Regions from separate parts of the Homo sapiens genome. Here regions 1, 2, 3 and 5 are each linked to region 4. The links are contacts of gene promoters, found by promoter capture Hi-C in human tissues and cell types (Jung and others, 2019). All regions are on one chromosome and are shown on one strand. Each heading gives the region's core, a stretch centred on a gene start or on the middle of the fragment in contact. The rest is flanking DNA. Distances are from core to core; before and after follow the strand shown.

The links. Contacts are between HindIII fragments. The study calls those that stand out against the background at their distance.
Region 1: a contact is called between a fragment that was not itself captured here and the fragment with the promoter of OAZ2 in region 4, in 1 of the 25 tissues and cell types used here (dorsolateral prefrontal cortex).
Region 2: a contact is called between a fragment that was not itself captured here and the fragment with the promoter of OAZ2 in region 4, in 1 of the 25 tissues and cell types used here (lymphoblastoid cells).
Region 3: a fragment that was not itself captured here is called in contact with the fragment with the promoter of OAZ2 in region 4 in 1 of the 25 tissues and cell types used here (mesenchymal stem cells).
Region 5: a fragment that was not itself captured here is called in contact with the fragment with the promoter of OAZ2 in region 4 in 3 of the 25 tissues and cell types used here (dorsolateral prefrontal cortex, mesenchymal stem cells and spleen).

The regions. Positions count from the first base shown.
Region 1 is chr15:64,251,041-64,256,178 of GRCh38, reverse strand. CSNK1G1 (casein kinase 1 gamma 1) reads left to right here. Exons shown (of 12, transcript NM_022048.5): 4 at 4,598-4,667. Among named protein-coding and RNA genes, the nearest start is that of PPIB, 91 kb to the right of the region's middle. The HindIII fragment of the contact is 3,236 bases long and covers 107-3,342 here.
Region 2 is chr15:64,208,602-64,213,598 of GRCh38, reverse strand. All of the region lies in intron 6 of CSNK1G1 (casein kinase 1 gamma 1), which reads left to right. Among named protein-coding and RNA genes, the nearest start is that of PPIB, 48 kb to the right of the region's middle. The HindIII fragment of the contact is 4,963 bases long and covers 647-4,997 here.
Region 3 is chr15:65,032,623-65,037,384 of GRCh38, reverse strand. No RefSeq gene overlaps it. Among named protein-coding and RNA genes, the nearest start is that of MTFMT, 5.4 kb to the right of the region's middle. RefSeq lists an enhancer at 3,980-4,059. The HindIII fragment of the contact is 4,917 bases long and covers 1-4,201 here.
Region 4 is chr15:64,700,635-64,705,751 of GRCh38, reverse strand. OAZ2 (ornithine decarboxylase antizyme 2) reads left to right here and starts at 2,471. Exons shown (of 5, transcript NM_002537.3): 1 at 2,471-2,723. The coding sequence starts at 2,704. LOC124903507 (a long non-coding RNA gene) reads right to left here and starts at 1,209. Exons shown (of 3, transcript XR_007064679.1): 1 at 1,120-1,209. RefSeq lists silencers at 2,336-2,655, 2,666-2,885 and an enhancer at 4,514-5,117. The HindIII fragment of the contact is 8,869 bases long and covers 1-5,117 here.
Region 5 is chr15:64,431,798-64,436,668 of GRCh38, reverse strand. The region is part of intron 11 of TRIP4 (thyroid hormone receptor interactor 4); the gene reads right to left. Among named protein-coding and RNA genes, the nearest start is that of ZNF609, 26 kb to the left of the region's middle. The HindIII fragment of the contact is 3,066 bases long and covers 1,856-4,871 here.

The DNA of each region.
Region 1 (5,138 bases), core at 475-2,974, 450 kb after region 4:
TTGATTTGTCATCACTGTTTCTGTTTGGTTCCTTGTGAATTCTTAGTTATTTTGCTAATGGAAAAATTCTATACCTGGCTGCTTTGATAGTGATTCAGTGGAATATCTGCAACCAGATGGAGACATAAGAGTGATATGATACCTCTCTATCTGAAGAGATAAATAAGAAAGGGACTCTACAGTATAATTAGTCTTATGTACTTTTCTTTTTACTGAAAGTCTTGAGACACTTGAAGTCCAACTCTAATGATTGCTGATTTTATACTCAAACAAGGGTATGAGTTCTTTCTTCATAGCGCTTCCTACAGATACAAACATTCCAGTCTGGCCTGAATTGATTTAGAGAAAATCTTCCTAGAAGCAGAGGGATAGACTAGACAACTTCGGAGAAACTTCTGAATTCTTTGATTAATGGATTCTATATCTTAAGAAAAATGCAGAAAACTTCAAGTGGATTCAGGAAAGAGCCTTCAAAGATGATCAAAGAATTAAAAACTAGGACCAATGAGGAAAGGTGAAAGGAATTTGAAATTACTTTGCCTAAGAAAAGAAAGTCTAGGAAAGCCTGAGAAAAGTAAGTTTTGTTATTTGAAGAGAGCTACTTAATAGTATTCGTGGTTATTGAGGAGCTTTTTTATTTTTTTGCTGAGGACTTAAGAAAAATAGGCTTAAGTTTCAGTAGTGAGATTTGAGTATAATATAAAAGTGTTCCAAACCATGAAACTTGTTCAACATCAGCATGAATTGTCGAGGGAAGTTATGGAATCTCCTTCCTTGGAGTCTGTCTTAAACATAAGACAAATAGGCGGGGTGTGGTGGCTCATGCCTGTAATCTCAGGACTTTGGGAGGCTGAGGTGGGTGGATTACGAGGTCAGGAGTTTGCGACCAGCCTGGCCAATATGGTAAAACCTCGTCTCTACTAAAAATACAAAAATTAGCCGAGTGTGGTGGTGTGCATCTGTAGTCTCAGCTACTTGGGAGGCTGAGGCAGAAGAATTGCTTGAACCCGGGAGGTGGAGGTTGCAGTGAGCTGAGATTGTGCCATTGCACTCCAGCCTGGGTGACAGAGTAAGATTCCATCTCAAAAGAAAAAAGAAAAAAAGGACAAATAACTACTCATTGGGGGAAAGGACAGTCTTTTCAACAAATGATGCCAGAAAAACTGGATACCCACATAACAGTGAAGTTGGATTCTTACTTTACATTGTATTCAACAATTAATTCAGAGTGGATCAAAGACCTAAATGTAAGATTGAAACTATAATATTTTACTAGAATACACATGGGAAAAGCTTCATGACATTGGATTTGGCAGTGATTTCTTGGATATGACACCAAAATCACAGACAACAAAAGAAAAAAACTAGCTAAGTTGGACTTCAGCAAAATTTAAAACTTTTGCACACTGTCAACAGAATTCTAAAAAGGGCAACCCATGGAAAGGAATAGGAGAAAATAATATTATCTAATAAGAGATGATATCCAGAATTTACCATTATAACAGTTTTTTAAAGTGCAGTGGCATTGGCCAGGTGCAGTGGCTCACACCTGTAATCCCAGCACTTTGGGAGGCCAAGGCAGGCGGATCACCTGAGGTCAGGGGTTTGGTACCAGCCTGACCAACATGCAGAAACCCCATCTCTACTAAAAATACAAAAATTAGCCAGGTGTGGTGGTGCATACCTGTAATCCCAGCTACTTGGGAGGCTGAGGCAGGAAAATCGCTGAACCAGGAGGCAGAGGTCGTGGTGAGCCAATATCATGCCATTGCACTCCAGCCTGGGCAACAAGAGTGAAACTCCGTCTCAAAAAAAAAAAAAAAAAGTTCAATGGCATTAAGTACATTTACATTGGTGTACAACCATCACCACCATCCATCTCCAGAACTTTTTCATCTTCCCTAACTGAAATTTTGTATCTGTTAAACACTAACTCCTCATTCTCCCCTCCCCCCAACCCCTTGGCAACCACCATTCTGTCTGTCTCTATGAATTTGACTACACTAGATACTTAATTTTTTTTATTGTTTGTTTTTTTGGAGACGGAGTCTTGCTCTGTCGCCCAGGCTGGAGTGCAGTGGTGCGATCTAGGCTTGCTGCAGTATCCACCTGCCGGGTTCAAGCAATTCTCCTGCCTCAGCCTCCTGAGTAGCTGGGACTACAGGCGCACGCTGACACTCCTGGCTCATTTTTTGTATTTTAGTAGAGACGGGGTTTCACCGTGTTGTCCAGGCTGGTCTCGAACTCCTGAGCTCAGGCAATCCACCCGCCTCAGCCTCCCAAAGTGCTAGGATTACAGGCGTGAGCCACCGCGCCTGGCTACTGGGTACTTAATATTAAGTAGACTCATTCAATATTTGTCCGTTGTAACTGGCTTATTTCACTGAGCATGATGTCCTCAAGGTTTGCCCGTGTTGTAGCATGTGTCAGAATTTCCTTTTTAAGGTTGAATAATACTTCACCCTATGTATATACCCAATTTTGTTTATCCATTCATCCAATTATGCACACTTAGGTCGCTTCCACCTTTTAGTTATTGTGCATAATAATGCTATAAACATGGATGTACAAATAAATCTGAGTTCCTGCTTTCACTTCTTTGGAGCATCTATCCAGAAATAGAATTGTAAATCATAATGATTCTGTCTTTAATTTTTTGAAAAATTGCCATGCCATTTTCCAGAGCGGTCGCACCATTTTGCATTCCCATCAGCAGTGCACAAGGGTTCCAGTTTCTCCACATCCTCATCAACACTTGTTATTTTTCTGTTTTTGATAATAGCCATCCTAATGGGTGTGCAGATGTTGAGCTTTATTTTATTTATTGATTGATTGAGACAAGGTCTCACTCTGTCGCCCAGGCTGGAGTACAGTGGCACAATCACAGCTCCCTGCAGTCTTGATCTCTGGGACTCAAGCAATCCTCCCACCTCATCCTCCTGAGTAGCTGGGACTACAGGAGCGTGCCTCCCTGCCAGGCTAATTTTTTAATTTTTGGTAGAGACAAGGTCTCCCTATGTTGCCCAGGCTGGTCTCGAACCCCTGGGCTCAAACAGTTCTGCCGTCTCAGCCTCCCAAAGTGCTGGGATTACAGGCATGAGCCACCATGCCCGTCCTATTTTATTTATTTATTTGTAAAGATGAGGTTTTGCTGTGTTGCCCAGGCTGGTCTTAAACTCCTGGTCTCCAGTGATCCTCCTGCCTCAGCCTCTGAAAGTGCTGGGTTGGCAGACATGAGCCACCATGTCAGCTACTGTTGAGGTTTTAAAGAGAGATTATAATGTGTTTAGGGTAATGTTTGGTTTTCTTGTTAGCCAGTTGCCCAGTACACTGTCAGTTTAGAATAATCAGCCAGCCAGTTGCTCAATTGGTATAGAGCAAAGTATGGTTGTTTGGCTGCTTTATCTCTGAGGTTTTTAGAAAACTCCATTTTTGGAAACTTGAACACCACATTGATTGAAGTTACATATTTTAATTGCATTTACAATCTTTAATTCTCAATAGTTTAAAAAGAAATATACATAAGGATGTTCCTAAAAGCATTGTTCATAATATTGGAAAATGAAAACAGTTCACGTGTCCAAAAATTATGGGGAGGGTGTGTATACATACATACATAAATACATATCCACATACAGGGCAATACTCAAACCATTAAAATAATATAAGCCAGGTGCAGTGGCTTATGCCTATAATCCCACAGCACTTTGGGTGGCTGAAGTGGGAGGATTGCTTGAGCCCAGGAATTTGGGACCAGCCTAGGCAGCATAGTAAGATCCTATCTCTACAAAAAATTAAAAATTAGCTGTGAGTGGTGGCACACACTTGTGGTCCCAGCCACTCGGGAGGCTAAGATAGGAGGATGACTTGAGCCTGGGAGGTTTTGACTGCAGTGTGCAAGACCCTGTCTTAAAAAAAAAAAGAAATTATACACGTTTATTTACCGCCATGGGAATATGTTATTACATTGTTGAATTCAATAGCACATTAATGAACAGCAAATATATTATAATCTCATTTATATAAAATTAAGTTCATTAGTCTATATTATATATATTAATACATATATAGATAAATAAATACTTTGAAAGACATTCACTAAAATGTTAATAGTGCCTCTCTTTAAAGTGACAGGATCACAGATGATTTTTACTTTCTTCCTAATTTTTGTATATTTGAATTTTCTTCTGAGCATGCATTATTTTTCTAAAAATAATAAAACCATGAACCACCCAAAATTCTGAACAAAACAAGCAGGAAATACATTCTGGTATTTTTTTATTTAAAGGTTTGGCATCAAGTTTCCTGGCAGAATACATTCCAGGAGAATATTTCATTGCAAGAAAGATATCCTTGAATGATAGCTCATGCAAAGTCTATTTTTATTTAACTATCCATGGAAGGACTTGTATGTAATTCACCTTCATCTTCTCTTAGCTATACTGTCCAAGACCAATTGTGGTTAGAAAAGGCTCTTATATATGGATATTATCTCTAAAACATTGGGTGATCTTAGCCCTCGTTTACTCCAAAAATTTAAGAATGGAAAAATCCCATTTGTTTAAATCTGATCACAGTTTTTCTTTTTGGATTTCAGGAACCAATAAAATCACGTGCTCCACAGCTTCATTTAGAGTACAGATTTTATAAACAGCTTGGCAGTGCAGGTAAGTCAAGTCTTTTCTCTCCACTTACTTAGTATGTATCTTAGCTGGAAGCCCTAAAATATACAAATTTTTTTGTCTGGTTTGCCCTTTTTACCAAACCATCTATCTCCCCTGCTTGCCGGATAGGTAAATAAACATAGTCAACCACAAAGCTACTTGCGCTCTGGTTCCTGGAGTTGAGTTGACAGGGGAACTGTGTTGCTATGACTATGCCCACAGACCAACCTGCAGATGCCTTCCACTTGTCAAATACTCATAGTGTGAAGGATTTGCTTTTCAGCAGTTCATTCTCTTTTCTTTACTTATACCAAAAGAAAGGAGGAAATGTTGGTAATTTGCAAAATATACTTTACCATACTGAGATGGTTTATCTGTTTTGAAGACATACTAAAATATACATTCTGAAATATTACAGAACCGTCATTTTATCCATTGTCCTCATTAATTTGCAAGAGCTATCCATATGATTGT
Region 2 (4,997 bases), core at 1,879-4,378, 490 kb after region 4:
AATTTGGTATTTACTTATGTATGACCCTATATATGATAGTCCTGAAGAGGACATCAGGCTGGGTCAGCGGTGGGGAAGAGTGCCTCACTAAAAATGGAGTAGACTTCTGTTCACTGCACATAGTTCTGCACAGAAGTCTTCAAGGAAGAGCTTCTGTCTTATTCAGTGAAAATATACTTGGTTTACCATTAGTCTTGCAATTTACTCAGGATAAACAACCTGCACAAATATTGTTAAATGCTCTAATCAAGGCAGAAGACCTTACCTGTGAGGAACTAGCCCAAGGGGGAGAGTATTTGTCAGAGAAGCCTAAGGAACAGTGGGGAGACCAAGCAGGCAGAGCCCTAGGCTTATCCACTTCAAAAAAGCCTCCCTTTTTTATGTTTCATATATTGGGCTTCCATGGAAGATTCTATTTGAAGAAAAGACTCCTAGGTGATTGAAAAAAACATGTTTGAAAATCAACATTCTAGAGAGTAGACAAGCAGAATATTCTCAGATTCCATACTCCTAGGCAGAAATAATTATAAAATATTCTTAAATATTAGTGAACTATTGCACACTAAGATGTATTTTATTTTATTTATTTTTTTGAGATGTAGTCTCGCTCTATCACCCAGGCTGGAGTGCAGTGGCACGATTTCGGCTCACTGCAACCTCTGCCTCGCGGGTTCAAGCAATTCTCCTGCCTCAGCCTCCCGAGTAGCTGGGATTACAGGCATGCATCACCACACCTGGCTAATTTTTGTCCTTTTAATAGAGACGGGATTTCACCATGTTGGCCAGGCTGGTCTTGAACTCCTGGCCTTAAGTGATCTGCCTGCCTCGGCCTCCCAAAGTGCTGGGATTACAGGTGTGAGCCACCGTGCCCAGCATATTTATTTTATTTTTAGAGACAGAATCTCACTCTCACTCAGGCTGGAGTGCAGCAGTGTGATCATAGCTCACTATAACCTCAGTCACCTGAGCTGGAGAGATCTTTCTCAGCCTCAGTAGCTAGGGTTACAGGCGCATGCCATCATGCCCAGCTAACTTCTAAATTTTTTTATAGAGATAGAGTCTCACTGTGTTCCCCAGGCGGGTCTCAAACTCCTGGTTTCAAGAGATCCTGTTGCCTCAGCCTCCCAACACACTGGGATTATAGATGTGAGCCACCATGCCTGGCCTGCACATTAATAAGTATTTTAAAGACTAATGTAATATCTACTAAGTTCCCTCATTGAGTAAACTACACAGGTTATTCACCTGAGGAATTCAAGTGATAGTGAAGAGTAAAAAATGGCATTACAAAGTAGTATGATACAATTCGATTTGAAATTATGATGTTATCAAGATTTTTTCAGTAACCACATGGAAATCCTCACTTAAGTAAATGTAATACTTTAAAATTAGACTAGAGGTCCTCTGGTACTTACTATCAGCGTTACTTTGGACAAGTTACTTAATCTCACTGAAACTCCTCTGTAAAATGAGGGTAATGCTTCACAGGGATATTTTGAGGGTTGAATGGATAATATATGTGAAAGCACCATGTCTGACATAGGTCTCTTGCATAGTGCTCAGCATCCCCTTCTTCCTTCACAATGACAAGTAATTTTCCATTTTACAAGGAAACAAAAACTGTATCTTAAATAATAAACTTAAGATTATGTGGTTTAACTGACAAACTCTAGAAGTTGTTTTAATGCCCACTTCCTGGGCTCAGCCATTTGTGTACTAATTTTATTGTTCTTAAGAGGAAAGACAAGAACAGACAAGGGATGGGTGTTCATGTTATGTTTGTATAAGATACAGAGTAGTGGTTAAGAAAAAGGATGCAAATCCTGGCGCTCTTTCTTAATAGCTATGTAATTTTGATCCAATAACCTTCTTCCCTCAGCCTCGGTTATCTCATGTATAAAATGGGTATGATAATTATGCCTGTAATATATGGTTCTATGAGATAATGTATGTAAAATGTTTAGCATAATGCCTGATAATAGTAATATCAGTCCATATTGTAATTATCCCGATTATTATTTATTCAACAAAATCTGTTTTAAGCATCTACTGTGCATCAGTCTGTTTCATCTCTTGGTGTACTGCCATTCCTGCCGGGACTTTTGAGTTTACCCCCAGACTTGGCTTACTGAGTACCAGAGTTTTTCAGGTCAAATCTAACCTGTCATCATATTTTGTGCTCTCTGCATTACAGAGAATACATAAAGAAAGTTGTCACTGCTTTTTAAACTCTTTCCCATGCCTCAAACGATAGAAGTTTTTGTAGGAACTCTAATGCTATTGGTTTTTAAATGTGTTGCATTTTTTTGTGTTGCAAAGAAGAAATGACTGAGATGTGTATTTTCAAATGGCTTTGAGAAAATCACTTCTTAATTTTACAGAGGAGGAGGACAAGAGAAGAAGCCTCCTAAACCTTGCATTAGTTGCCACATCAGAGTAGCCACACTTACTTAGTCCATTTTGTGTTGCTATAAAGGAATACCTGAGGCTGGGTCATTTTATAAAGAAAAGACCTTTAAATTTGGCTCAGGGTTCTGCAGGCTGTACAAGAAGCATGGCACTGGCATCTGCATCTGGTGAGGGCCTCAGGGGCCTCATGCTGCTTCCACTCATGGTGTAAGGGGAAGGGGAGCAGCCAGCATGTGCAGATCACATGGGAAGGGGGGTGCTAGGCTCTTCTCACCAACCTGCTTTCTTGGGAACTCATCCCTAAGGGAGGTCGTTAATCAGTTAATGAGGGATATACCCCCATGACCCAAACACCTTCCATTTGGCCCAGCTTCGAACATTGGGATCAAATTTCAACGTGAGGTTTGTGTGTGTTGGGGGGTCCGGGGGAAGGACAGAAATCCAGACCATAGTAGCCACCTTCCCACTGATTAAGCTTTTACTGAGAAGCCCAATTTATATTATTTAATGGTTGAAATTAGGGTGAGAACACTGGGTTACCTTGCTCCCTGCCTTCAACAAATATATTTAACCTAAAATCAGGGATGTTATGCATGTAAACCAAGCACATCTTTCTGATTGGATGAAAGCACACCTTTCAACCAATCAGAAGAATTGAAGAATTTTGTGTCCTGCTGGTCTCACTGGTATTGGAAACCTTTCTTCTTTGAAAATGAAAATATGCTGCATGAAAAAATGAGGGCATGTAGAAATAATGAATTGGACAAGTGTGGAGTGTTCAAAGTCGTATGAAAATAAAGCATGCTCTGGTTTTCACTCTTATTTTTTTCCTGAAAGGCCCTAAAGGCTTAAGTTATCAGATTATTTTAGAATTTTAGAGCTGGAAAATGACTTTTCAAATTCTCCCCAGATTGAACACTTTATTTTCAGATGAGGAAACTGAGACCCAAAGTAGGTGACTTGACCATGCTTAATTTCACTGGATTAAATTAGTGGAAAGGATAAACCAAGATCTAGATACCTAAATCGTTGAGCTGATTTAGGTACCCTTATTTTGGGTACCTTATTTAGGTACCCTTCCTGATTTAGGAACCCTTATTTTTCCTATTGTCCCATATTCTATAGTTCTTTTTCATAGTTCTCAGGATTTGAAAAGTTACTTTATTACTTATTCCAGTGAGTTTTAAAAATATATTAATCTCATAATTTATTTTGCTGTGAAATCTTTTTTCTGTAGGCCTGATCAATATTGAAAATGTGGAGAGTTTTCGCCCTCTAGTGCTCAACTGTTTAAAATTCAAACATTTGTCCAGTGAATTTTTAATAACCAAGGGGCTTCTTGTTACAGGAAGTGGATATAAAAATGGAGAGGCAATGAGTAGGTGTGATACAGTATGAGAAACTGCAGAGTCGTTTCTCTATCTGCCCTGCTTTGTGGGAGGCCTCCACTCAACTCTCCTTGTTCTTTTCTCTTTTTCATTTGTGCATCCTTAGGTTGTGTCAACAAACTGTTTTTGTATAACTGCTTTTTTTTTCAATTATGAATATTTTATTGCAAACTTCAGACAAGCCATGTAGACAAAGGATTCTGATGGTCATGCTGTTTTCATTCTTTTTAAGATTGTTTCAATTGTTGTATACCAACTCAGTTTTATGTTATTTATCTCTGTCAGGGTACCTCTCCTTCCCATTAGTAACCATCTTTTTACAACCTCCATCAAATCATTATTTAAAAAGTTGCCTTTTCTTTCTTCATCTACCCTGTAGACTACTATTCTTTTTCATGCAAATTCCCTATAATTTAAGGCAATAGTTAAACATGTTGCACTTCTGTATTTTGAGTTAGCTGAGTGGCTTTCTCTGGCTCTCTTGGGTTTTACTTTCTGTACAAAGAAAGCACAATCAAGTTGAAGGTAGCCTCTTAGTCTTGCTTCTGTAGTTTATTCAGATAAAGCCCTAAACTTGATTCTGAAAAATAAACACATAAAATGTCTGAGATGGGCCAGGTGTGGTGGCTCACACCTGTAGTGCCAGCACTTTGGGAGGCCAAGGCTGGTTGATTGCTTGATTGGCCCAGGAGTTCAAGACCAGCCTGGGAAACATGGCAAAACCCAGTAACTATAAAAAATACAAAAAGTAGCCAGGGATGGTGGTGCATGCCTGTAGTCCCAGCTAGTGAGGAAGCTGAGGTGGGAGGATCACTTGAGCCCAGGAGGGCGAGGCTGCAGTGTCCAAGAACATGCTACTGTACTCTAGCCTAGGCAACAGAGCGAGACCTTGTCTCAAAAAAAAAAAAAAAAGAAAAAAGAAATCTGAGACTAAACCATAATTGGCAAATTCAAAATGAATGCATGGACTGGGTGCAATGGCTCACATGGGTAATCCCAGCAGTTTGGGAGGCTGATATGTTAGATTTGCTTGAGGCCAGGAGTTTGAGACCAGCTTGAGCAACATAGCGACATCCCATCTTCACAAAAAATAAAAATAAATAAATTAGCCGAGTGTGGTTCCACACACTTATATTCCTAGCTACTCAGCTGAGGCAGAAGGGTCCCTTGGGCTCAGGAATTTGAGGCTGCAGTGAGCCA
Region 3 (4,762 bases), core at 494-2,993, 330 kb before region 4:
AAACAACTTGGTAAGTAAGAATTGTGTGTTAATTTGTCTCAGTTTTGTCCCTCCCATTCACAGGCAAGTAAGCACTCTTTTTTTTTTTTTTAATTTTTTTTTTAAGACAAGATCTGACTCTGTTGCCTAGGTTGGAGTGGCATGATCATGGCTCATGGCAGCCTCAATCTCCTGGGCTCAAGCGATTCTCCCACCTCAGCCTCCCGAGTAGCTAGGACCATAGGCGTGCACCACTACACTTGGCTAATTTTTAAAATTTTGTAGAGATAGGGTCTTGCCCAGGCTGCTGTCAAACTCCTGGCGTCCAGTTATCTTCTGTCTTGACCTCCCAAAGTGTTGGGATTATAGGTGTGAGCCACCATGCCTGGCTTGATTATTTGCAGGCATACTATAGTTATAATAAGAAAACAAAAATTTAAGGAAATTTTTGTTTTGCTAAGCATAACCCATTTTACAACAAATTGCACTTTTTGGAGGCATCATCCTTAAATTTACCTGTATATTAATTTATCCATTTGGATTAAATTTTCCATTTAAGGTTTTCTGGCCAGGTGCGGTGGCTTATGCCTATAATCCCAGCACTTTGAGAAGCCAAGGCAGGTGGATCACCTGAGGTCAGGAGTTTGAGACCAGCCTGGCCAACATGGAGAAACCCTGTCTCTACTAAAAATACAAAAATTAGCCGGGCATGGTGGTGGGTGCCTGTAATCCTAGCTACCCAGGAGGCTGAGGTGGGAGAATTGCTTGCTTGAACCCGGGAGGCGGAGGTTGCGGTGAGGCAAGATCGTGCCACTGCACTCCAGCCTGGACGACAGAGTTAAGACACTCCGTCTCAAAAAAAAAAAAAAAAAAAAAAAAAAAAAAAAAAAAAAAAAAAGATTTTCTACAGTCTTGACCTCCTAGACAGAACATTTAATACATCTTGGATTCTAAGGGGGTTTGGCAATGTGGGTAGGTATTCTGAGGCATTTAGTCTCTCATTTCTGAAAACTGGATGATCTAAAGTATACAATATTATTCATTTCATGAATTTTGAGGGGTCCTCTGAAATAATATAGCAACCAAGGTAAGACTCACAAAGCTAATAATCAGGGAGATTTAGGGTAGTTCCTTTAACTATGTGTGGTGAAAGTGCCTTTCAGTTTGAACATTTAAAGCCCGCTAAATTGAGAGTTAGAGATGGAACATAAAGGACTAAAGAGATGTTTTTCATATGCCTAGCAGAACATAGAACATAAAAAAAAATACCGACAACATTTCAAAACACAATCTGAGTTTCATCATTGGTTTCATTCAGTTCTACATAATGAATTCTCCATAGGTGGATCCTGGGTCAGCAGTCCACATTTGCAGAATTATCTGCTTCTAGACAAAGGCACCCCGGCAATCCTGAGATGTAAGCGCTCTGGTACAATGTGCCAGGTATCCATGTGCAGCGGCAAAATCAGTTCACACAAAGAGGCCTGAACTCCTGAGTTTACTCCCTGCAGTATCAGTAGTTATATGATGGTACACTGTCACTCACTGCTGGTGGGAATGTAAAACGGTGTAGCCACTTTGGAAAACAGCTTGTCACTTCTAAGAATTAAAACATAGAGGCCGGGCGCAGTGGTTCACGCCTGTAATCCCAGCACTTTGGGAGGCCAAGGCAGGCAGATCACGAGGTCAGGAGATCGAGACCATCCTAGCTAACATGGTGAAACCCCGTCTCTACTAAAAATAGAAAAAAATTAGCCGGGTGTGGTGGCGGGCACCTGTAGTCCCAGCTACTCGGGAGGCTGAGGCAGGAGAATGGCATGAACCCGGGAGGCGGAGCTTGCAGTGAGCCAAGATCGCGCCACTGCAGTCTGGCCTGGGTGACAGAGCAAGACTCAGTCTCAAAAAAATAAAAAATAAATAAATAAAAAATAAAACATAGAGTGGGACTCAGCAATTCTACTTTTAGGTATATACCCAAGAGAATTGGAAACATATTTCTTTTTTTTTTTTGAGACAGAGTCTTACTTGGTTGCCCAGGCTGAAGTGCAGTGGCTTGATCTTGGCTCACTGCAACCTCTGCCTCCCGGGTGCAAGCAATTCTCCTGCCTCGGCCTCCTGAGTAGCTGGTACTACAGGCATGCACCACCACTCCCGATTAATTTTTGTGTTTTTAGTAGAGATGGGGTTTCACCATGTAGGCCAGGCTGGTCTTGAACTCCTGACCTCAAGTGATCGCCCGCCTCGGCCTCCCAAAGTTTTGGGATTACAGGTGTGAGCCACCGTGCCCAGCGGGTGGAAACATATTTCCACACAAAAGCTTGCACATGAATGTTCACGGTAGCATTATTCATCATAGCCAACAAGTGGGAACAATTCAAATGTTCAACTTGAGGCAAGATAGGTAGTCAAGGAAGTGACCATGTCCTCGGGATGCGGCAACCGTGGTGACCGTACAGTCAACACAATAAGCCCCAGCATTCGCACTGTAGTTGAGCTCATTCAAGCAAAGCTATCTACAGTAGGGAATTTCCCCTGTAAAGAGGATGTGCATTTTGGCCGGGCGCAGTGGTGCAGCCTGTAATCCCAGCATTTTGGGAGGCCAAAGCAGGAGGATTGCTTGAGCCCAGGAGCTCGAGACCAGCCTCGGCAACATGGCAAAACCCTGTCTCTACAAAAAAAAATTAGCTGGGCATGGTGGCGCGTGCCTATAGTTGGAAGGCTGAGGCGGGCGGATCACCTGAGCCTGGGAGGTCGAGGCTGCAGTGAACCGAGATCACGTCCCGGCACTTTACCCTGGGTGACAGAGCAAGACTCTGTCTCAAAAAAAAAAAAAAAAAAAAAAAAAGTGCCTGGTACAGCCCCTTCAGCCCCTACCCCCAAGGCTGTAAATTTTATTTTGATATTTCTTCCAGAAGCCAAGATCTCTGACTTATATACAAGGGCCTTTAGGCCAAGTGTGAGGAGCAAGCAGAAAGCACCTGTTAATGATAAGACTGGGTAGCTCTGGTTTAATTTATTACAGAGTCAGCTACATCAGATTGGAGGCAAGTAGGATTCCCACAGGAGAGCAGGATATAAGCAAATGAGCCTTTCTATAACTGTTACATAAGGACTGAGATGATCATTATCCCCCACAGAGGGATGTATTATAGACCTGAAGGTTTTGGCAAATCTCCAGAGAATGATAATCTATATTGTAAAATGTAAAGAGGATACCACAAGCATCTCCAACCAACCAAATTATTACACTTCTAGGAAAAATTTTCTTAGAAGTGTATTTATTGATAGCCCTTACATACAAACAGAAATATGCTACCACCCCACACAGGATACATGATATATATTCACAATAACAATCTATACAAAACTTCCTTGGGGTAGCTTCAGCCTCTCTTTCCCATATTCTGAACCTGGTAAATAAAGGAAGCATGCTAGTGAGCAGCTGATTAGAAACTATGGAGCTAATCAATTGCATGCAATCGCTCTTCTTTGAGTCCCACGTGAGGGTAAAGGGTGAGGAAGCAAGGCTGTGGTGCTATCTAGTGGCTGTCTAGGAAGTAGCAAAGGCGGTTTTGTTTAAAAAAGGATTTCTGTTTTATCACTCCATATGTGGAGCCTGATTTCAGAGAACAGCATCAAAAAGTGTTTTCCGATATAAACATAGGTGTCCAAGAACAAGAACTGGCCACAGCTGTAGCTATTTTACTAACTAGTCTTTCCTCCTGTTAACAACATACAGCTTTGTTAACACTGTCTAGCATTTTTGCTGGGGGTAAAGGGCTGGGAACTAAAGTTTTTAATATTTGATCTCTTTAAGTGTACTTTGAAATATTCTCTTGGTTTTCTAGGATGCCCCTCAGCAGCAATGAGGAAACGTCCATATTGTTAGGCTGCTTCTCCTACCTGTGGTATATCTGGCTTCGCTTCCTGGGGTTCCTGATACCCCTTAGATGTCCCTTAACCTCTCCAGTCTCTCTCCTTATCAAGGAGAGTCCTGTGGACCCACACTGCTGTGTGTGGCCTTTCATCCCCGGCCCTGATTTACAGAGAGGCTGGACAGGTTAGGGAGTGACATCTACTGGACCACACAGGGCAGTAACAACACAGAGGGCAGATTCTGTCAGAGGTACTGGAGCAAACGGACTATCCGTCACGCTCAGTGACGGGACAGGCTGGTGGGCAGCACCTCCTTGCGGGCATCTGATACAACCACAGGCAGGCGATGGCAGTACATGGAGTGGCTCGCTAGGAACTGCATCTCAAAAGGCTTCACTGGACTGTGCCCCTGAGGTCAGTTCCTGCCCCTGGCACTGGGCTGACACCTATGTGTGGCAGTCCTTCCCCTGGTCAAATGTGGCATTGCCTCCTAGGCCACAAGCAGGGGTTCTTGTGGACTTAGGCGTTGGCCACCTTACTAACTGGAGTTCTGTTCTGTGGTAGTTATCCTCACCCTGCAGAAATACCCATATAGTCATGGAGTGGGGTGAGATGACGGGAACAGGAAGTGGAAATGCTTGTTGCCTCTTCCCATTCCCAGATCAGCTCTCCCAGCCCCTAGTCATGGAGGCCACTCCTGCATTCCAGTTTTCTACTAAACGTCTCCATTTGCTTGTCTCATCACTTCAGTTTCAAAGCATTCAAGGGTGAAATGTCATGTTGACCACCAAGTGGGTTATTTCCCTACGTCAATGACACTGCTATTGTCTTGTCACCCAGACTCAGAACCTGGAGTAATTTCATTGATTCAGCATCCGCACACACTCTATTCATCAAGAAAGATAAA
Region 4 (5,117 bases), core at 1,222-3,721:
GTTGCAGTGAGCTGAGATCATCCCACTGCACTCCAGCTTAGGTGACAGAATGAGACTCGGTTTCAAACAAAAGAAAAAGAAATGTGGCTAGTGGGACTGAGGAATTGAACTTTTAACTTTATTTCATGTTAATTAATTTAGATTTGAAGACCTCAGTTTTTGTGAATTTTTCACTTGCTGACCAGGTGGCTATCAGGGTGGCCACTCCTTTAAACAGAAAGCTGTCCAGAGAGCTTCTGACTCTTCCACCATGCAGATCCAGAGAAAGCACAGGATCAGGCAACTTGGGATCCAAATTCTAACTATACCACTTAATCGCTTTGAATTAAAGCTAGCATGTTAACATGTCTGGTATAGACAGACCCTCAATAAATATTGGATGACAGAATAAATCTCTCTGAGGTTTAATTCTCTTCATCCTTAAAACGAGGGTGGAGAGCTGTTCTAAAATTTAGTACTTTACCCATGATGCTCAATAAATGGTCGCTATTATTGACATAGTGAGTTCTCAATATTTGTTGATTCATGGGTCAAAAACTGTCCTTCAGGTTAAAGGGTTACTTGGCCAGGAATGGGCTGGCAGAAGTGAGACATTCCAGCTCCCTCTGAGGGTCCAGGAGGATTGCCCAGGTCTCTGGGACTATGCGATGGGGTAGATCAGGGCTGGGTTTAAATGTCCAATTTTGCTAAGTACTAATGTAAGAACATACCTGACTTGAACCTGGAGGAGTAGGTAGGGATAGCTGAGGGACAAAGTGGAGGATCTTAAAGTGAACCAGAGTATGAGACCAGCCTTGCCTGAATATCTAGTGATAATCCGGGCAGTTTCGGTATCATTTACCACTTTAATTTGTGTTGAAAAAGCCTTAGCTTGGTAGCTCCAGCCTTCCTTCTGTGCCTCCATCCCCATCATCCAAAACCCAAAAGCATGCTGTTTGTGAAGGAGAGTAACCATATCCTGAGATGACTCCAATGTGAGATGTTTGTGAACTGAAAGTCATAGTGACCGCCGATCTGGAGTGTCACCCTTTCTCTGAGTTATCACTCTTTCTGCAAAGCTGTCCCTAATTCCCTAAATTACTTTCTCTGTGGCATTCCTCAGATTGAGCACTTACTTACCTGGTATTGTGATGACCTGTGTCTCTCCCCTTGACCGGATTGTGACATCCAAGGCAGGAACCTTGCCTGGTTGATTATGGCGTATTCTTGGACTCTAGCACATGCCTGGAGCATACAGTAAGTAGCTATTCAATAATTATTTGTTGGCCGGGTGCGGTGGCTCATGCCTGTAATCCCAGTACTTTTGGAGGCCGAGGCAGGTGGATCACCTGAAGTCAGGAGTTCAAGACCAGCTTGGGCAACATGGTGAAACCTCGTCTCTACTAAAAATACAAAAATTAGCCGGGCATGGTGGTACATGTCTGTAATCCCAGCTACTCAGGAGGCTGAGGCAGGAGAATCGCTTGAACCCGGGAGGTGGAGGTTGCAGTGAGCTGAGATTGTGCCACTGCACTCCAGCCTGGGCCACAGAGAGAGACTCCATCTCAAAAATAAGTAAATAAATAAAATAATTATTTGTTGAATAACTGAATGGATGTAATCTGAGGTGACAGAGTGACCCACTGTGATCTGAGATAATGTGACCTCTCTTGATTGCAATCTGGGTTGACTGTGAACAGAGTCGGGGCTTTTGATGATTGTGTTGAAGTGTCTGTGATTGTAACCTACAAGGACTGTGATCTGAGGGGTCTGCGCACCGGTGACTGTGGCCTTCAGGCACTAATCTGTCATAAGGACCAGTAGGGATAATGAATGGAGGTGACTGAACTAGTAACCTTGCATGATCGATTGAAGTAACTTGCACTGATTGTGATCTGAAGTGACCGTGAACAAGTTAGTGACGACGCTTTCCACGACTGTCTTGTTGTGACTGTGCTCATGATCTACAGAGTTCTGGCTTCAGATGACCTAAGCCAGTGCTTGGAGCAGCCTTGACGATTGACATGAGATGTGTGCGAGATGCTGAGATTGTTGATCTACCCTGACAGCTGAGGTTATTGATCTGCATTATGAGCTGAGATAACAGATCTGTGGGCCTGGACTCAGACTAGGAATGGTGCTAATATGTGTGTAGTTCTCTTAAGATTTCTGATTTTGTTTTAATATCCTCCCAAATGGCACAGCCCTGTTCGGCCCCACGCCAACAAGGAATAGGGATGAGGACCAGGTTGAGTCAATCCTCACAGAAAACTACCGGAAACACAACGCATCTTCTGGGCCGCGCTGCCGCAGCTGCGGGCAGACCCACCGCCTTGGTCATGGCCTCCTGCACAGCCTGCCCTTCGTTCGGACCCCCTAGCCCTACCCCCACGATCGGTCCGTGGTGCGCCTGCGCGGAGGCGGGGCGGTGCTTTGCCCTTTGTTGTGGGCCCCAGTTTCCCAGGACACCGCGCGGCGCTGGGGTGGGGCTATGCAGATGAGGCACTCGGGGGCGGGGCGGCGGCGGCGGCGGCGGCGGTGGCGGCCGGGGAGGGTCAGTTGGAGGCAGGCGCTCGCTGAGGCAAAAGGAGGCGCTCGGCCCGCGGCCTGACAGGGACTTAGCCCGCAGAGATCGACCCCGCGCGCGTGACCCCACACCCACCCACTCATCCATCTATCCACTCCCTGCGCCGCCTCCTCCCACCCTGAGCAGAGCCGCCGAGGATGATAAACACCCAGGACAGGTAACGGCCCGGCCCAGGCTCCCCGCCCCCATCCTCCCTCATCTGCTCCAGAGGGCCTCTCACGTACCCCTAGCCGGCCCCCGCCCCCCGCAGCGGGGCCATCCGCCCCCAGCCAGGTCCGTTCACCACTTCAGCCACCCTAGTCCGGTCCTCAGCCCTGCAACTGGGCCTTCTTCTGTCCTTTAGCCCCCTCTTCAGCCGGGCCCATCCCCCTCATCCGGGCCTTCTCCTCCCCTAAAGCCCCCAAAAGCCGGAACCCAACCTTCCAAGCAAGTCCCCTTTTTTCTTTCAGCCCCACCGAATTGTGCCCCATTCCCCAAACTGGGCTTTCCCCGGCATCCAGATTCCCCAAATTGTTTCCTGTCTTCCTCAAATCTTTCTTACTCCCCTTATAAGTCACTTCACCCTTCCCTTTGAATTCCCTCCCTGATGAAAACTGCACCCCCCACCCAGACTCTTCTCATATCACTGCCCCCCGCAAAGTCAACCTCCATCCTTCAGTTCTCAGTTTACCCCCACTCATCACCCTCCCCCCATTCTCTTCAGGCCTAGCAGTCCTTACACAGATGTCCAGCCTCTTCCTCCTGGTCCCATACTTCAGCTTCATCTTTCCCCCACCTTCCCCTCTCCACACCCCTCTCCCAGTTAGGCCCCATTTTCCCAGTCTCCCAGCGCCATTCCTTTTATTTATCAAACACCAGGTTTGATTCTTGTGCTCCATCCTGTTGCCCCAATGGTATACCCCCAACACTCTTGGAAACATTCTTACCCTCTAAACATCTTTTCTCAGCTGGAACTCATCCTTCTCCTTCCCCTCTTAACTGAATCCCGTCTTTGGATCATTAGATCACAGGACCCAGCCATCTCGCTTCCAGTGAACCTTCCCCCTGTACCTCCAGTGCCTTCAAACCAAGCTCTATATTCTGGACACTAGATCTTTGCAATTTCCTCCCTCAAAACCCGACCCTAGTCTTCCCCCATTAATTAGAGAAAGGCTGCACATCTTTCTCAGACCGAGCACCCTGGTTTTCCAAACTTGCATGGTATATCCTTCCCCCTGCAGATAGTTCCTCAATTTTCCTTTCTCTACATGCCTCTCTTTCTCCAAGACAACCCTTCTCACCTATCTCTCCCTCAAATTTTAATATATCCCATATTTCTGCCTCTGTTCTCTGAAACTGTTCCACAATTTCCTAATTCCCCGGAATTTTTAATCCTAGTTGCTCCTTATACATCAGAATGGCTTTCATTTACAATTTGGACCTAATTCTCTTCCTCATTTTTTCCCCAAACTTGTTGCTGTCCTGTCCAAACCGTGTCTGAAGCTCATTAGTTCCCCACACCAGACCTTTTGTCCCCAGATTTGGCCTTATGGCCTCTGCCTCTCACTTGGGCCTCATTATTTTGCAAGCAGATCCATTCCCTGTAAATCTTCCTTAAATTGGGCCATGTTCTATTCAGAATTAGACTAGTTCCTCTCAAATGCATTGCCTTCTTTATTGCTTTTCTTTGCATAGAGCCCTCTAACTGCCACTCAGGATTCCTCTCAAACTTGGGCACTCTTCTTACTGAAATAGTCTCTCAACTTTCCTTTCCCACTTGTTAACAGCACCAGCCTTAAATATTCCAACTGGGTTTTCAGCTTTTCTTGTATTTCAGTGTTTCTTACCCTGGCTTCACATTTGAGAAATCAGTCACTTGGGCCTTACCTTCAAAGATTGGTCTCATTGGCCTAGAGTGTCCTGATTATTAGCATATAGTTTTAAAGCTCCCCAGGTAATTCTTTATAATGCAAAGCTGGGGTTAAAAACCACAGCTTCCTTCCTGCAGCTTTTCCCATCCTATTCCTGTAGTGGGTGTCAGCCCTTTTCTACTGACAAAGGCCTAATTTTCTTCGAGGAATATTTTTTTTTTTTTTTTTTTTTGAGACAGGGTCTCACTCTGTGGCGCAGGCTGGAGTGCAGTGGTGCGATCTGGGCTCACTGCAACCTCTGCCTCCTGGGCTCAATTTCTTCAGGGATTTCTTAGTCTTTCTCTCTCAGGTGCTGTCCAGAAGTGCCCAAGATACAATACCTGCAACAGCTTCTGAAGTTCCTGTCTGTACTCAGTTCTCAGCCATTGGCCATTTTCTTCCCCCAAGTCTCAGACTCTTAACTGGTGCCCTCCCCCTCATTTCTTCTTTGCATGCAGGAAGAAAATTCACTCGCCGTTTGATAATTTGTTATGGTCTTATTTGACCTGTTATCCCTGCCTCCCATGTTCTCTTTACCCTACAACCCATCAGCTGTTAGAGTTTCCTTTTCCAAGACTCTCCATGTCCATCCCCTCTGCATTCCCCCCTTTCACTCCATCTTCTGTAACCCAGCCCCTCGGGAGCTGAGGAGGTGGAGGCGG
Region 5 (4,871 bases), core at 2,139-4,638, 270 kb after region 4:
GAAATTAATCCTGTTAGGGAGGAAATGGGCTGGGGTTAGGGAAGACTTCAGAGAGTAACATCTGAGATTTTTTTTTTGTTGATGGAGTCTTGCTCTGTTGCCCAGGCTACAGTGCAGTAGCGCGATCTCAGCTCACTGCAACCTCCGCCTCCTTGGTTCAAGTGATTCTCTGCCTCAGCCTCCTGAGTAGCTGGGATTACAGGCGCCCGCCACCATGCCCAACTAATTTTTATATTCTTAGTAGAGACAGGGTTTCACCATGCTGCCCAGGCTGGTCTTGAACTCCTGACCTCGTGATCTGCCCGCCTCGGCCTCCCAAAGTGCTGGAATTACAGGCGTAAGCCAATGTGCCTGGCTGATTTTTTTTTTCTTTTGAGACGGAGTGTCGTTCTGTTGCCCAGGCTGGAGTGCAATAGTACGATCTCAGCTCATTGCAACCTCCGCCTCCTGGATTCAAGGGATTCTCCTGCCTCAGCCTCCTGAGTAGCTGGGAACACAGGCATATGTCACCACACCCGGTTAATTTTTGTATTTTTAGTAGAGACAGGGTTTCATCATGTTGGTCAGGCTGGTCTCGAACTCCTGACCTCAGGTGATCCAAATGCGTCGGCCTCCCAAAATGCTGGGATTACAGGTGTGAGCCACCCCGCCCAGCCTGAGATGTTTTAAAGGATGAGCAGGAGCTGTCCTAGTGGACAAGGGCATGGTGACATGATGTAGAATGGTTTATTGAAGAAAATATAAATTTTACTTTCTTCAGGTTTTTTTTTTTTTTCAATCTACCATTATGGTATTCCAGGAAGCATTGCTTCTGCAGGACTTGTCTTTTTTTTTTTTTTTTTTTTTAAGAAGCTTCCTTTACACTCCCCCTCCCATCCCACTTCCAGCCATGCAAAGTTAACAGTTGGGTCCCTTCCTTAGTGTATTCCACTATTCATGTGATAGTTATTATGGTTGGGTTTTCTTGTCTCAGTTTCATCTAGTATACTTAAAGATCTAGAGGGGATGGAATAATGTTGTTAAAACTCTGGATCCTTAGTATTTAACACAGTGCCTGGCACATGACAGATAGTTAATAAATACTTAATGAATGTATGATTATATAATATCCTAAGCAATAATAATATTTTTTTTTTTTTTTTTGAGACAGAGTCTCACTCTGTCGCCCAGGTTGGAATGCAGTGGCGCGATCTCGGCTCACTGCAACCTCCGCCACCCAGGTTCCAAGGATTCTCCTGCCTCACCCTTCCGAGTAGCTGGGATTACAGGCACATGCCACCACGCCCGGCAGATTTTTTTTGTATTTTTTTTAGCAGAGATGGGGTTTCATCACATTGACCAGGCTGGTCTTGAACTCCTGACCTCGTGATCTGCCCGCCATGGCCTCCCAAAGTGCTGGGATTACAGGCGTGAGCCACTGCACCCGGCATCTTTTTTTTTTTTTTTTTTTTTTTTGAGATGGGGTCTCACTCTGTCACTCAGGCTGGAGTGCACTGATGCAATCTGCTCACTGCAACCCTTGCCTCCCCGGCTCAAGGGATCCTCCCACCTCGGCCTCCTTAGTAGTTGGGTTTACAGGTGCATGCCACCATGCCCAGCTAATTTTTGTATTTTTTGTAGAGACGGGGTTTCACCAGGTTGCCCAGGCTCATCTCGAACTCCTGGGCTCAAGTGACCTGCCCACCTGAGCCACCCAAAGTGCTGGGATTACAGGCGTGAGCCACCATGCCTGGCCAATAATATCTTAAATTAGAAGATAAGTTGCCACTTGGTTTACATGGTAGACTAGATGACAAACCAAGGAGTCCTGAACAGATTCCAAGTAGATAGCGACACTACAGCATATTCTTTCTAGATCAAATAGACCACTTTCTCTAAGCCTTGGTTTACTTAAAGGTAAAATGAAGGCATCATATCCAGTAATTGATTCTACCTACATAAAGCCCCTTGCATCATTGTTCCTGTCTTGCCTCATTTCATTGGCATTATCCTAGAACATATTTTTCAAACATCTCTATCCTGGACTACAACTGTCTTCTCACTGGTCTTCCCATCTTCAGAATATCTCCACTCCATCTTCCACATTTCTGCCAAATTAGTTTTCCCTCAAGCAAGCCTCAGATCATGTTAATGCCTCAAAAAAACTTCAAAACACTCTTTCCCATCCCACAACTGATATGTCTATCATTTGATAGATTTGAATGCCTATCATTCAAAACTATCTATCATCTGAACAAACCTACCTTTTCATTTTTTTTTTTTTTTTCTTGAGACGGAGTTTCACTCTTGTTGCCCAGGCTGGAGTGCAATGGCACAATCTCGACTCACTGCAGCCTCTGCCTCCTGGGTTGAAGTGATTCTCCTGCCTCAGCCTCCTGAGTAGCTGGGATTACAGGCATGCGCCACCACGCCCAGCTAATTTTATATTTCTAGTAGAGACGGGGTTTTTCCATGTTGGTCTGGCTGGTCTCGAACTCCTAACCTCAGGTGATCCACCTGCCTCGGCCTTCCAAAGTGCTGGGATTACAGGTGTGAGCCACTGTGCCCAGCCCTTTTTAATTTTTTTTTAATTGGGCAGTCCCAGAAGCAGATTAGTTTCAGAGAGACTCCCCATTTCATTTTTTGTTTGCTGCTTATTCCTCTATACCAGGGGTATTCAATCTTTTGGCTTCTCTGGGCCACGCTGGAAGAATTGTCCTGGGCCACACATAAAATACACTAACGATAACTGATGAGCTTTAAAAAAAAAAATCACACACAAAAAATCTCATGTTTTAAGAAAGTTTACAAATTTGTGTTTGGTCTCATTCAAAGCCGTCCTGGACCACATGCATCCCACGGGCCACAGCTTGGACAAGCTTGCTCTATACTCACACTCTTCTTTCAATGAACTGGTTTGCCATTATTCTCCATAGAGGCCGATAACTTCACCTCTGTGCCTTTGCTCCCATTACTCCTCATCCTTGTAATATGCTTTTCTACCATCTCAGTAGAAACACTTGAACAGCAAAATCATAACTCTACCATTAACTGACATTACATAAGTTATTTTTTATTTATTTTTTGAGATGGAGTCTCGCACTGTTGCCTGGGCTGGAGTGCAATGGTGCGATCTCAGCTGACTGCAGCCTCTGCCTCCTGGGTTCATGTGATTCTCCTGCCTCAGCCTCCCAAGTGGCTGGGATTACAGGTGCACATCACCACGCCTGGCTAATTTTTTTTGTATTTTTAGTAGAGATGAGGTTTCATTATGTTGACCAGGCTGGTCTCGAACTCCTCACCCTGGACATTACACAAGTTATTTGAACTCTCTTGACACTTTAGGGATGATATTTCATCCCTAAAGGAGGGGAAATGACACCCTGCTTGGAATTATTATAAGGATTAGAAAATAGCATGATGAATGTGGCACATAATAACTGATCAAAAAGTGATAGATTTCATTACTATCCTTCAAAGCTAATTCAAAACCATCTTTTTAAATAAAGTCTTTTGGGATCCTTCCCAGCTAGAAGCAAGCTTTCCCTCCTTTATTTTTCTCAGAGACAGTCTTTACTTCTTTTAAGACAGTTAGGTTCACTTTTTATTTTATATTTGGTTTATATACATATCTACCTAGAAGTCTTTCAAACATCTGAGGACAGAATCTACAGTTGATTCATCCTTTTGTTTCTCTTAGTGTTTAGAACAGTGCCTGATTTATAATAGGCTCTCAAGTGTTTATTTATTTATTTATTTATTTATTTTTATTTATTTTTGAGATGGAGTCTTGCTCTGTTGCCCAGGCTGGAGTACAGTGGCGCAATCTTGGCTCACTACAACCTCCACCTCCCGGGTTCAAGAGATTCTCCTGCCTCAGCCTCCCGAGTAGCTGGGATTACAGGCGCATGCCACGACGCCCAGCTAATTTTTTGTATTTTTAGTAGAGAAGGGGTTTCACCATGTTAGCCAGGATAGTCTTGATCTCCTGACCTTGTGATCCGCCCATCTTGGCCTCCCAAGCTGCTGGGATTAAAGGTGTGAGTCACCACGCCCGGCTGTATTTATTTATTTATTTTTCAGACAGAGTCTTGCTCTGTCACCCAGGCTGGAGTGCAGTGGCGCAATCTCGGCTCACCGTAACCTCTGCCTCCCAGGATCAAGTGATTCTCCTGCCTCAGTGACCCAAGTAGCTGGGATTACAGGGGTGCGCCACCATGCCCAGCTAATTTTTGTATTTTTAGTAGAGATGGTCACCAAGCTGGTCAAGCTGGTCTCAAGAGCCTGACCTTGAGTGATCCGCCTGCATCGGTCTCCCAAAGCGGTGGGATTACAGGCGTAAACCACTGCGCCTGGCTCAAGTATTTATTAATGAATAAATATATATGAAAATCTTAAGAATTTCATGTTTATTTTCAGATGAAAACCAAAACACTAAATACATGGAAAAGTGGTAATATTTCCCATCTCTCTTCAGGATAAGTACAACAGAAAACATAATGCTCAGCCAGGCATGGTGGCTCATGCCTGTAATCCCAGCACTTTGGGAGGCCGAGGCAGGCGGATCACGAGGTCAAGAGTTCAAGACTAGCCTGGCCAACATGGTGAAACCCTGTCTCTACTAAAAATACAAAAATTAGCCGGGCGTGGTGGTGCGTACCTGCAATCCCAGCTACTCAGGAGGCTGAGGCAGGAGAATTGCTCGAACCTAGGAGGCAGAGGTTGCAGTGAGCCAAGATCACTCCACTGCACTCCACCACCCTGGACGACAGAGTACGACTCCGTCTCAAAAAAAAAAAAAAAAAAAAAAAAGAAAACACAATGCTCTTTGGATAAAAAAAATATATATATATATATAATATAAATGGTTTCTGAAACCATTTAAGTGGGTA